4 separate regions of the Homo sapiens genome follow, and regions 1, 3 and 4 are each linked to region 2. Evidence: promoter capture Hi-C in 16 types of primary human blood cells and fetal thymus (Javierre and others, 2016). All regions are on one chromosome and are shown on one strand. The core of a region is centred on a gene start or on the middle of the fragment in contact, and the rest is flanking DNA. Distances in the headings are between cores, read along the strand shown. Region 1 overlaps SHTN1 (shootin 1). Region 2 holds the start of VAX1 (ventral anterior homeobox 1). Region 3 overlaps SHTN1 (shootin 1). Region 4 overlaps SHTN1 (shootin 1).

Evidence for each region. Contacts are between HindIII fragments. The CHiCAGO score rates a contact against its expected background, and 5 or more counts as called.
Region 1: a contact is called between a fragment that was not itself captured here and the fragment with the promoter of VAX1 in region 2, in 1 of 17 cell types (M1 macrophages). The highest score is 5.2, in M1 macrophages.
Region 3: a fragment that was not itself captured here is called in contact with the fragment with the promoter of VAX1 in region 2 in 1 of 17 cell types (M1 macrophages); the score reaches 6.4 in M1 macrophages.
Region 4: a contact is called between a fragment that was not itself captured here and the fragment with the promoter of VAX1 in region 2, in 1 of 17 cell types (M2 macrophages). The highest score is 5.3, in M2 macrophages.

The regions. Positions count from the first base shown.
Region 1 is chr10:116,939,803-116,942,502 of GRCh38, forward strand. It overlaps SHTN1 (shootin 1), which reads right to left. Exons shown (of 17, transcript NM_001127211.3): 9 at 664-810. Among named protein-coding and RNA genes, the nearest start is that of SHTN1, 64 kb to the right of the region's middle. The HindIII fragment of the contact is 1,356 bases long and covers 727-2,082 here.
Region 2 is chr10:117,136,906-117,139,605 of GRCh38, forward strand. VAX1 (ventral anterior homeobox 1) reads right to left here and starts at 1,365. Exons shown (of 3, transcript NM_001112704.2): 1 at 911-1,365. The coding sequence starts at 1,151. The HindIII fragment of the contact is 11,137 bases long and covers 1-2,700 here.
Region 3 is chr10:116,883,917-116,886,616 of GRCh38, forward strand. SHTN1 (shootin 1) reads right to left here. Exons shown (of 17, transcript NM_001127211.3): 17 at 1-2,650. The coding sequence ends at 2,428. It also overlaps a transcript of ENO4 not described here. Among named protein-coding and RNA genes, the nearest start is that of ENO4, 36 kb to the left of the region's middle. The HindIII fragment of the contact is 1,178 bases long and covers 831-2,008 here.
Region 4 is chr10:116,901,456-116,904,155 of GRCh38, forward strand. SHTN1 (shootin 1) reads right to left here. Exons shown (of 17, transcript NM_001127211.3): 16 at 310-502. It also overlaps a transcript of ENO4 not described here. Among named protein-coding and RNA genes, the nearest start is that of ENO4, 53 kb to the left of the region's middle. The HindIII fragment of the contact is 5,794 bases long and covers 1-2,700 here.

The DNA.
Region 1 (2,700 bases), core at 155-2,654, 200 kb before region 2:
AAACATTGATGTAATTTTTCTTAAGTGGTCTCTTTAATTTGGAAGTCTTTGTTCCACTTCTTTGCTTCTCCTCTCACCTACCACAATGACTATCCTTTCTTCTTGGCACACAGAGGTAGGCTGTGTCAGCTGGAATAGCTCCACTCATCAAATTGAAATAATCACTTAGGAAGTCTTTAAACATACACATTTGTGCAAGTTTACAAAATCAAAAATTTTCTCTAAGCAAACAATTACTACTAATACGGACTGTCATTTTCTTTGAATAAAACCTATGCCCTCCAACAAGTGCTCTGAGTTGAATACAGCCTCTTAGTGTGTGCAGTCTCCAAAAAATATAACATTTCCAAAAATTGAATTTCCAGACTTTGCCTTATCCAAGCTGTTTTTAAGTTATACCTCTTTCCCTTGCTTCTTCCGACCCTTTGGACAGTTTAAAGATTATTATAAAGTCTATAATAGCGTATTACAAATTTCAGTTTCACAACATTAAGTTCATTTAGTTATTTTTTTCTAAAAGGTGGTTGAAAGCACTTAGTAACTAAGGCAAAATATGAAACAGTAAATGACTGGACTGACTGCACTGGCTCCCTTCATCTTAAATATATGTGTGTATGCATGTATGTGTGTGTGTACCTAAGATTCCAGAAGAAAATGGGTTACCTTTTGTTGATGCTGAATTCTCTCTTCTTCAAGTTGCTGGGTGAGTTTTGCATTTTCGTCTAAAGCTTTCAAAAGCTGCTGATCAGGGATGGAGCTCTGCAGCAGAAGGTGGCTTTGTCTCTTTAGCTTGTTTTGCTCAATGAACATCTGCAAAAGTTTGTTACAAGAATGTATATATCAATCAATCTCACATACCTCCTCAACTGTAACTTCAGCAAAAGAAAAGTACATGGAATTTTTATTAAATCATTAAAGGCAAATTCTGACTTCTATAAGTTTTAGAAGTAGTGATTGCTATGATTTCATTCCTTTTATATAATCTTTAATACCTTTACTCCTGCCCCAACAAGATATTTATACAATAAGCTGGTCTTACTCTTCAGTTTTTAATATTTTATTATTGCTTTAAGATACATTAATATTAATAGTAGTAGCTAATATTTCTCAAGAATTTACCTTGTGTACTCCACTAAATATTTTATATGGATTATTTTAATCCTTACATCAATCCTATTAAAGTGCTTCTACTATGAATAGGTAACATTTACTAAACACTATGTGATAGATATGGTGGGAATCATTTTACATTCATTATATCATATAATCCTTAAAACAACACTATCAAGTAGACACTACTATCATCTAATTTTACTAATAAGGTAACTGAGGCTCAAAGAAGTTAAGCAACTTTCCCAAGAACACACGTAAGTGACAAGACCAGGACTTAAACCCATATCTGATTTACATGCCCAAGCTCTTAACCATCTGGCTAAGTTCCTCTACTATTTGCTAGATCTAATGTTTTGTTTTAAACTAATTAGTTTCTCCCTAGTGATAAAAGTAGTTAACAGTAGAAGGGTAAAGGGGAGAAGGGAGACAGTATATTTTATTGAGCACTGTATTAAGCAATTTATATGTTATTCATCAAATCCTCACAACTTTACATGATTGAAAATAATATTGATTTCTATTTACCTGTTATTTCTTTTCCTTAACACTCTACCCAATTTGGCCAGTGAGTGATTCCAAGTATGAAATGTTTTTGTAAACTCTGAAATCTGGCCTACCAATTTTATAATAGAGCTTCACCTTTTCAGATTTTTAACAGCATTTTAAAATTTACATTATAACTTAACTGAAAGCTCTGAACTGCAAAATGATTTGCTAAAGCCCTCATATTAGTTTGTTCAACAACTTCACCCATCATGTAACAGAAAAAGTCAGCAAATAAAACTCAGGACAAAAATATTTTCCATCAACCTCCATGTGGCAAGACCACAGCTTTAATGATTTATACAATCCTTAAGCTCTTGATCAGTATCGACTTCCACATCAAAGTCAAGTCATGAATACAGTATACTAAAACACTAACATTTTCTTCCCAGTATGTCTTCCTATGAAAGGGAAAAAAAGGTCAGAAGCTTTCCTTCTTTGCCTAGGGATTTATGAAAAGCCTACAAAACTACGACAGGGTTCTTCTGCAGAATTAAAACACATTACAAAGTCAAACAGGTAAATAAACAATTGCATATACATGAAACCCACATTCTTCTTCCATTTGTGTGAGAGTGAGAGGTATAGAGACTGCAGTGAGGAAGAGTATGTGCATGTACACTTGGCTGGAGAAGGGTGAGATGCAGCTTCAGCATTCTAAGAAAGAGTAATCAATATTTCATCACAGTATCTTAAACTTCAGACCAGTGATTTAATTAAAATGAATTGTTTTGGGTGACCATTATGATTACAGTAATTTTTTTTTTTTTTTGAGATGGAGTCTCGCTCTGGCACCCAGGCTGGAGTGCAGTGGCACAATCTCGGCTCACTGCAACCTCTGCCTCTCAGGTTCAAGTGATTCTCGTGCCTCAGCCTCCCAAGTAGCTGGGACTACAGGTGCCTGCCACCATGCCTGGCTAATCTGTGTATTTTTAGTAGAGATGGGGTTTCACTATGTTGGCCAGGTTGGTCTTGAACTCCTGGCCTCAATTGATCCCCCCGCCTCGGCCTCCCAAAGTGCTTGGATTACAGACGTGAGCCACC
Region 2 (2,700 bases), core at 115-2,614:
AAAAAATCCAATCAATTCCACATAGGCGGACGTTTCTTCCGGCCTGGGGGGGCCTCGGCTGAGCCTTCCGGGTCCCCTGTAGCCTGAGGGTACCCTTGTCGCCCCGCCCGGGTCCTGCGGGCCCCAGCTCTGGGCTTGCCGACCAGACCGTGATCCAGACGTCCCCACCCCCACCCTCGAGTCTCCTTCCCTCCGGAGTCCGCGCGGCGGAAGGAGGAGGGACTGAGTCGGGGCCGGCCGGGCCCGGAGATCTGCTGCTGGCTGGGGCGGCGCCGGGCCGGGGCCCGGCCTCGCAGCCTCCGCCGCCGGGGCTAAGTGCACGCCGCGCCATCCGAGAGCGGCAGAGCAGAGCACCAAAGCGGCAACCGCGGCTCCGTAACCAAGCCCAGCTGCCTCTCCCGGCGGCAGCGGTCGGGCACCGATCGCGGCCGTGGGGTCCTCGGCCCAGTGCACTAACTGGCAGGGCCGTAGCCCGCGATCGGCAGCTGTTCTCCGGGGCTCGCGTTCCCCCTTGGGTGCGCTCAGCCCTCCAGAGCGCGGGAGTCCCCTGGCCGGCTCCCGGCAGGTCGTCCGGCCCTTGGAGCGCGCACACCTCCTCCCGGAGTTTTCTGCTCCTTTCCCGGGTCGGAGGCCGCAGCCCGATGCCCGGCCGCACCCGCGCAGCCCCTCATCTCCCCCCGCAGCCCGGTCAGCGGGGCCCCTCCGGGCGTGGAGGGCCGAGGCCCCTGGAGAGCGCACCGGAGAGTCCCAGGCGCTTGTCCCCAGCCGGACTCGGGGCGGGGAGGGCCAACAACTTTCTCCCAAGTCCCAGCCGGCACTCCTTCCCACCGGCCTGTGTCGGCGGCAGCGCGCAGCTCCGGCCCCGGAGTCGACCCCAAAGAACGCGCCTGGCAGCCCTGCCCATCCCTACCTCGGACCAGGATCCGGCGGCAGTAATCCGGGTCCGCTGCGGAATTGGATTTACTTTTGTTACAATCCTCAGCAGCGCCCGACGCTGAGAAGGCGCCCTGCGGCTCCTTGAGGAAGGCGGCTGGGAGGTTCCCCTCCGCGCCCTTGCTCTCCCGACTCTCCTTGTGCGCGTTCTTCGAGACCCGGGCAGCCTCGGCGTCCGAGTGGCATCGAACGTCCATTTTGTCTGGTTTCCCGAACATAGGCAAGAACAACAACAAAAACAGAAAGGAAAAAAAAAGCAAAAAAAAAAAAAAGGGGGGGGGGCGGAGAAGGAAAAAAAAAAGAGGAAAAAGGGGACAAAACCCCCGACAACGCGGCCCGTACGCCCGGCCCGGCGACAGGCAAGGGGCAAGAATGAATGTCCCCGCGGGGAGGCTTCGGCGGCCGCGCGCGGGTCAGCGGCGACGGGAGAGTGGCGCGCTCGCCGAGAGGCGGCCAGTCTGGTCCAGGATCCTGGTGGAGCTGCGGCGAGGCCGCCTCGTCAGCACCCGCGTCCTCTGAGCACGTCCAGTGTCCCCAGCCTGGCGATCAGGTAGCGAACAGCGCAACTCCGAAATGCTGCGGCTCCCGCCTGTTTCTGAGACGGCGAGTTGTAGTTGTCCGACACCCGGGGGGACGCACACTCGCTGTTGCAATTGATTACGGGTAATTTCGCAGCCCCCACGTTTCGGTTACCTCATGAATACACTAAATTGTTTGGATAATATATCAGATCGTAATGGATGGTTTCTGTCCTTGTCCCCAATCAAGTAGGGGTTTAGCCAGTGAATAAACGGAAATGATTGGTCTTGCTTTCAGGAAACACACAATCAAAGACCCACACTTCCAGAAAAACTTTTGACAAGATTCATCCTGAATTGTTAGTACCATTAGCAGGCATTATTAACTTTCCTTTTGCCTTTGACCCTCCTGCTCACATACTGGCTAGAGGGGTTTTCTCCACACTCGCCAGATAGAGCTGAATGAGGGTTGGGCGGCGGGGGGGTGTGGGGGGAGAAAAAAAAAACCCTGCGCACCCTGCGGCAGAAGAAAGCAGTTGTCTGGGAGTGGGGGATGGGGGACAGAGCGGGGGGAGAAAGTTTTCCCAAAAAGTATCTCCCTTGCACTCTAAAAAAGCCAAGATTTTCCCCTAAACAACTCCTTCTTAACACACCTCGACGCAGACAGCCATCTTAAACTGCCACCTCTCTTCATTTAGTTCCAGTTGGATTTTTTCATGCCTGCACCTCCAGCAGCCCTGAGGCAGCCCATTCAAAGGGCAGCTTTGTACTCAGAGTCCAGCAGGAGAGAGAGGGGGAGAGGGAGAGACGGCCGAGAAATCTCAACTGTGAGATCTGCTTCAAAAAAAAAAAAAAAAAGTTTTCCCCTAGCTATTTCATTGTCTCTGCTACAATATCTTTGAGAAAAGCAACAGCCAGTAATCCAATAAGAGCATTGATTAGGCTACAATGATTCAATTCAAGCGCATGGCCTTGTGCAAGGAGCATGCTCCAGCCCTTCTCGTCACCTTGCCGGGGCAGAAGCCCTCTCCACGCCGCTCTCCCCATTCATTCCTTTATGGGAAATGCGGAGCAAAAGGAGTGAAAGATGGCAATTATCTAATTGGACTATTAACAAACAGTCCTCTGAGTGCGGCGGTCTGGCGTGGCTCCTGGGCGGGGGAAGGGCCGTGTTCCCTGCCCTCATTCACAAAGAGTGCAGGGGCCGGGGAGGAAAGGGGTTTTTTAAAGGGGGTGGGTGGGGGGAGAG
Region 3 (2,700 bases), core at 170-2,669, 250 kb before region 2:
CAGAAAAAAAAAGAGACATTTTCTTTTTCTTTAATAGCAATGGCACAAAGTACCTCTATCTCTGTTCCTCACTCGGGCTATAAAATGCATCAACATTCGTTTTTCTTAAAGAAAAAAAATCCTCTATAGCGCACAAGACTTAATTTATCTTTCCCAAACAGAAGGAAGCATAAATAACCTTTTAGAGAAATCAAAAACATAAAGATGCAGTCTTTTCCAACTTAAAATTGTGTAAGCAGGACGTATGTAAGTTTTGTGTGTGCAATAGCTATGAACATACCTTGCAGATATAAGCACGGTTCTCCTATGTCTTCCTATTTGGGATCCCTTGCTTTGGTTGACAGTGTCACCCCAGCCAGGGGCAAAACCCCCTCAAAACCAAAGTGAAAAGGGAAAAACTGTAGGCAGAAAAAGGTGAGTGAATATCTTCCATCAAATACCTTCATGTCAAATTAATTTAAAATGCTTTGTAATCACAGTGAGAGAAAGTAAGCAGCTTAAAAAAGGCAGGAATACTTTCAAAATACCTGTTACTAATTGTTCCCTAGTCCAGCTAACACATTTCACCCAAAGGGCAACTTCTTACTCTAGAAAGGAGGGTATTTTGATAACCATATTATTCTGTGATGGTGTGATGAAATATGGAAAGACAGTGTACATATTTTTATATTCCTAAATGTGTGTGAGTTGCATGCTGGCAGACAGATCACAGATGCAAGAAGGAAGACAGCACAAAGAAACATGAAAGAAAACTCAATAAACCATCTTAGGGACTATTAAAAATTACTAAAGTTGTCAAATCATATACAATTTTCTATTAAAGAATGTCAAGCTTGGGGAACTAAACCAGAAACGTTAATAATAACCACAACTGACCCTTAATGGGAAACTATTGGTGCCTTTTTAATAAGTTGTGGTGAGGAGAGTTCAAATTACAGCATAACAGAATTCGTTTCGTGAATTAATGCAGTCTGTAGTAAGCATATCATATAGCAGTATTATCCAGTTAAAGAAAGATACAGTTGAAAAACATTACGTTTTAATTCTCCATGAGTAAAGTGATAAGTAACTATAAAATCATTATTGGGAGAACATGGAAACAGTCAAGCATAACGAACTTACAGAAAGATAATTATCTCCAAATTTAGGAAGTACATGTACCTGCCTACCCACCTCTTCAAGCCTATGCTTACCACACGTGCAAAAATACAATACAATACAACTACTGCAATTATTACTATCATTTTCTTTTGCCCTTAGGTGAAAAACACCTGACAGCTACATGCTGAGCCATGCTAACAAAACTAAACCTTTCACTTTCTTTAATAGTAAAATTACCATTACTGAATCATTGTCATAAAAAGTGCATTCAAGTACATTACCACTTATTTTAAATAAACACCAATTTTGAAACAATCAACTTTGAAAAGCTGCATAAGTTTTTTTTTTAATCCCTGATTACATTTCTATTTATTCACTGTGGTAGCCTGAAACATTGTATTTTTAGAGACTAACTACTGCTTAATTTCTTTTTTAAAAAAAACAACAACAAACCTGTGTAATATAGAACAGCAGTGAAGCAAGAAAAATGTGTGCTTGTCACTTATCTTCACCATACTGTACATAAGAACTCTGATAAAATATGGTACTTGTGCCACATTAGTATTTGGGAAAACATAATTAACTCATAGCACAGAGCACATGGTTTACCAACTTACTACTGTAAAATTCAAGGTTTGGACTTTCACCTCAGTTCTGTATTCAGGCTACCAGAGCATCCCCACGGAGGTCCTCGGGAGGCTTTGGACACAATCAATAGCATGTATTTTTCATCCAATAGTTAACAATGTGTGTAATTAACACTGACTATGGGACTACGAGTTTGATGCCAGCTCCTGAGTTTTCAGTTTATCTCAGTCTACTGTAGAAAATAACTTGTATGCCACAGTACCCAACAATTTCCATGCTGCTGCAGTTTCTCCATCAAGAGGATCAGACCCAAAACAGAAGCTTCTTTGGGGGCTTTTAAAATCACATTGGGTTGATCAGTTTTGTTTATCCGATTATATACAAGCACCTCAAACTTTCAGCATTCCATTTGATGAGTGGTATGCACATTTCCTAAAAAGGTATCAACATCTGAATTTTTTTGTAACCTTCTAAAAGAAGTCATACTTAATACAGTAACTAGGAAAAAAACCTCATCTTTATAAAGATCAAAAAACCAAAACCTACTAGGAATGTGTGTTTTGCTAAACAGCTTACTTATGTTTATAGTTGCTACTTACAAAAGTGACACCAGAAAAGAACCTGTATTCTGAATACAGTGACCAGAGCAGAATGTCTACAGCCCTTGCCAATATAACAACACTAATCATGTGCTTATTGAAAAGGACTTCCAAACATGTCAGGCTTCTGGTTTATGGATCAGCAGTTGGAGCTGTCTGTCTCTCTCACGTTTTCAATGCTGTCTTCTTTGTTTTCTGGTTGAATTTCGCCTTCATCCTCCTTGTGTTGAGTTGGATCTTTTTCAGCAACCTGGTCTTTGGTTTGGGGTTCATGTGTAGAAACAGGATCTAAAACTACAACTGGTTCGGCTTGTTTTTCACCGTCAATGTATTTTTTCCTGCATCCAATGCTACTGGGAGGCCTATGAGATGAAGAGTTAGACAAAAAAAGTAAAAAGCAGAGAGAGAAAAT
Region 4 (2,700 bases), core at 136-2,635, 240 kb before region 2:
TTGAAAGACTGATTGTCTCCTGACGCAGAGTCTGTATCATCCAGATCAATTATTTGTGTAGAAGAACCTGATTACCAAACCAGTTTAGGGGAAGTAATTCTCTTTGTACATGGTACTTGCTTTGGATCTGAATGAGATCTCTTAGCTAGGAGCCTAGAATGAAAAAGCTGGCCCATCAAATGAAAAGAAGAAGAGAATTTACCGGCGAGCCAATCAAAATCTCTCTAAAGGAAACAAATCAAAGAAACACACAAGTTAGTCATTACAGATTCTTCTATACACCACTTAGTAAAGAGCATCGTTACTTACTGAAACGTAACCTTGGAACTTGTGCATCCTTCCAATTTACGGGGCCCTTCACCTGGCTCAGGTGTTGGGGGGGACGGGCTGTTGAATTCTGCCTCCAGAGTTTTCTTGTTCAAGGCTGTTTTTGTTACACTGGATACAGAACCCAACACTGGCATGGATTTGGACTCTGAGGTGGCTAATATCCCAGTTGGACCTTAAAACCAAACACATACCTCAAGTTTAATAATTCTGTATGATGCTTATTAATATGGTACTGAAAAACAGATTAGCTGAAAATCCCTCAAGAAGTGAAAAGGCCAAGTTTGTTAAAATTTCAAGAGCATGCTGGAAAATGTTGTTGGAAATCTGCTCTGCTTTCGTGGTACTACTACATTTCAATCTACCAGGACCACGCTGAGAAATTGTGTACAGACCTTTAAGAAACCACAAAATCCCAGGCCACAATTCCCTCACTGACCAGGGTCCTTCGTAATACTGGAATTGTGGAAAGTCTTTTCCTCTCATAGAGTATGGCTTTCTGACAGCCCTACTCGAACCATTTCGCCTCTCAAGAGTTAATTCTTCCCAAAACTCAGTTCTGCATTTTAAACAGCAAATGGAACCATGTCAAAAGGCTCTAAAAGGCTCATGAAGGCTTCTTGAGCATTAAACAGTTTTTATGAACATTTTCATTTTAATGTGAATGAGAAGTAAGTGGATTTGTTTCCTCTTAAAACACAGACACAAAATCATAAAAATTAAGTGGGAAAGAGTTTGGCTATTTACCTTTTGGACTTTTCTGCTCTTTAGGACAGGATTTAAAAACCATAATAAAACTTGTTACTGGAATTATTGGCATATCAATCTAAAAATTCTGGGCATTGAAGCCAGTCCCTAATTTTAGGTGGAAAGATTCTATCCTAGTCAGTTTTTCTCAAAGCATGATTCTAGTAAGTGCTTCTTGAAACTTCAGAAGGAATGCTTTTAAAACAAAGATAAGTCACAAATATGCAAATTAAATGACTATTTCTAGAAATAAAGTGAGAGGATAACCTTGAAATGTGCCAGTAAGAAGAGCACAAAACTTGGGTGTCTCTTGGGTGTCTATCCCTAACAAATGTCAGATCATCTTAAAATGGAAAGCACTAGTGGGTATAATCCAAAATGCTAGCTAATCCCTGACCATTGGTATTAAGCTCTGGAATGCTATTCTTCCATTTGGATTTAATGTGCCTGATATACTCAGTATAATAGCGTAACATATCAACTCTAAAAATGAAGGTCTAATTTGAAAAACCTACCTAAGAGAGACTAAAAAATTGTGAACCCATTCTGTTGGACACCTCTCTGAGCCTTGCTCTATGCAGGTTACACAGGACCTCTCTGTTCTAGTGGAAGCCCCAGTTCACAAAGCATTAGTTTCTATCTTCCCCATTTAATTCACCTATACTCTCTAGGCAGACACGTTTGGACATTATTGGATATTTTGATCTAAAAGGCCTTTTCCGGCTGTACGTGGTGGCTCATGCCTGTAATCCCAGCACTTTGAGAGGCCGAGGCAGGCGGATCGCCTGAGGTCAGGAGTTAGAGACCAACCTGGCCAACATGGTGAAACCCTGTCTCTACTAGAAATCAGCCAGGTTTGATGGTGGGCGCCTGTAATCCCAGCTACATGGGAGGCTGAGGCAAGAGAATCGCTTGAACTCAGGAGACAGAGGTTGCAGTGAGCCGAGATCACGCCACTGCACTCCAGCCTGGGCGACAAGAGAGACTTCATCTCAGAGACAAAAAAAAAAGGCCTTTTCCTCCCAGCTATGTCAAGCCTCATGTTGCATGGAGCTGTGGCAGTTACGACAGAAGGGCAGAACAGAAAGATCAATTAATTTTAGAGTTCCTGAAAATATAAATACGAAGTTGAATTCAAGATTTGCTTCTGATCAGCTCTATTCTGCCCTTGGGTAAGCGTTGACTACAATACTAGTTAGCTTTAAACAATCTGTCCTTGTAAGAAAGATCTGCTTCTGAATACACCAACACATTTTCTGCAAAAAGGAAGGCAATTAGTGAGCTAAGCTACAGCTCTTATATTTTTCTTATATACAAAAAGACATTTTAAAAAATGTACACCGTTTAAGAGTATTATTATTGCATCCTGTTTAAGCCACCCAGTGTTCTCCAAGAGGCACTTGCTGCTCTTTGAAATGTCAGTTTGGTAGGACACAAGGCTAGGTAAAACAAGGGAACATTAGTTAAATGCCTAAGAAAAATCCTAAGGAAAAGGGTACAACATCCTTTGTCCCTGGGGCAGATAACCATTAACCTGAGATCTTAGCTCTGCAAACTCTCAGGCTGTCTCTCTTCTGATGTTTCCTTTCTCTACTTGTGACTTCACATTTACTTTCCCAAAAGCCT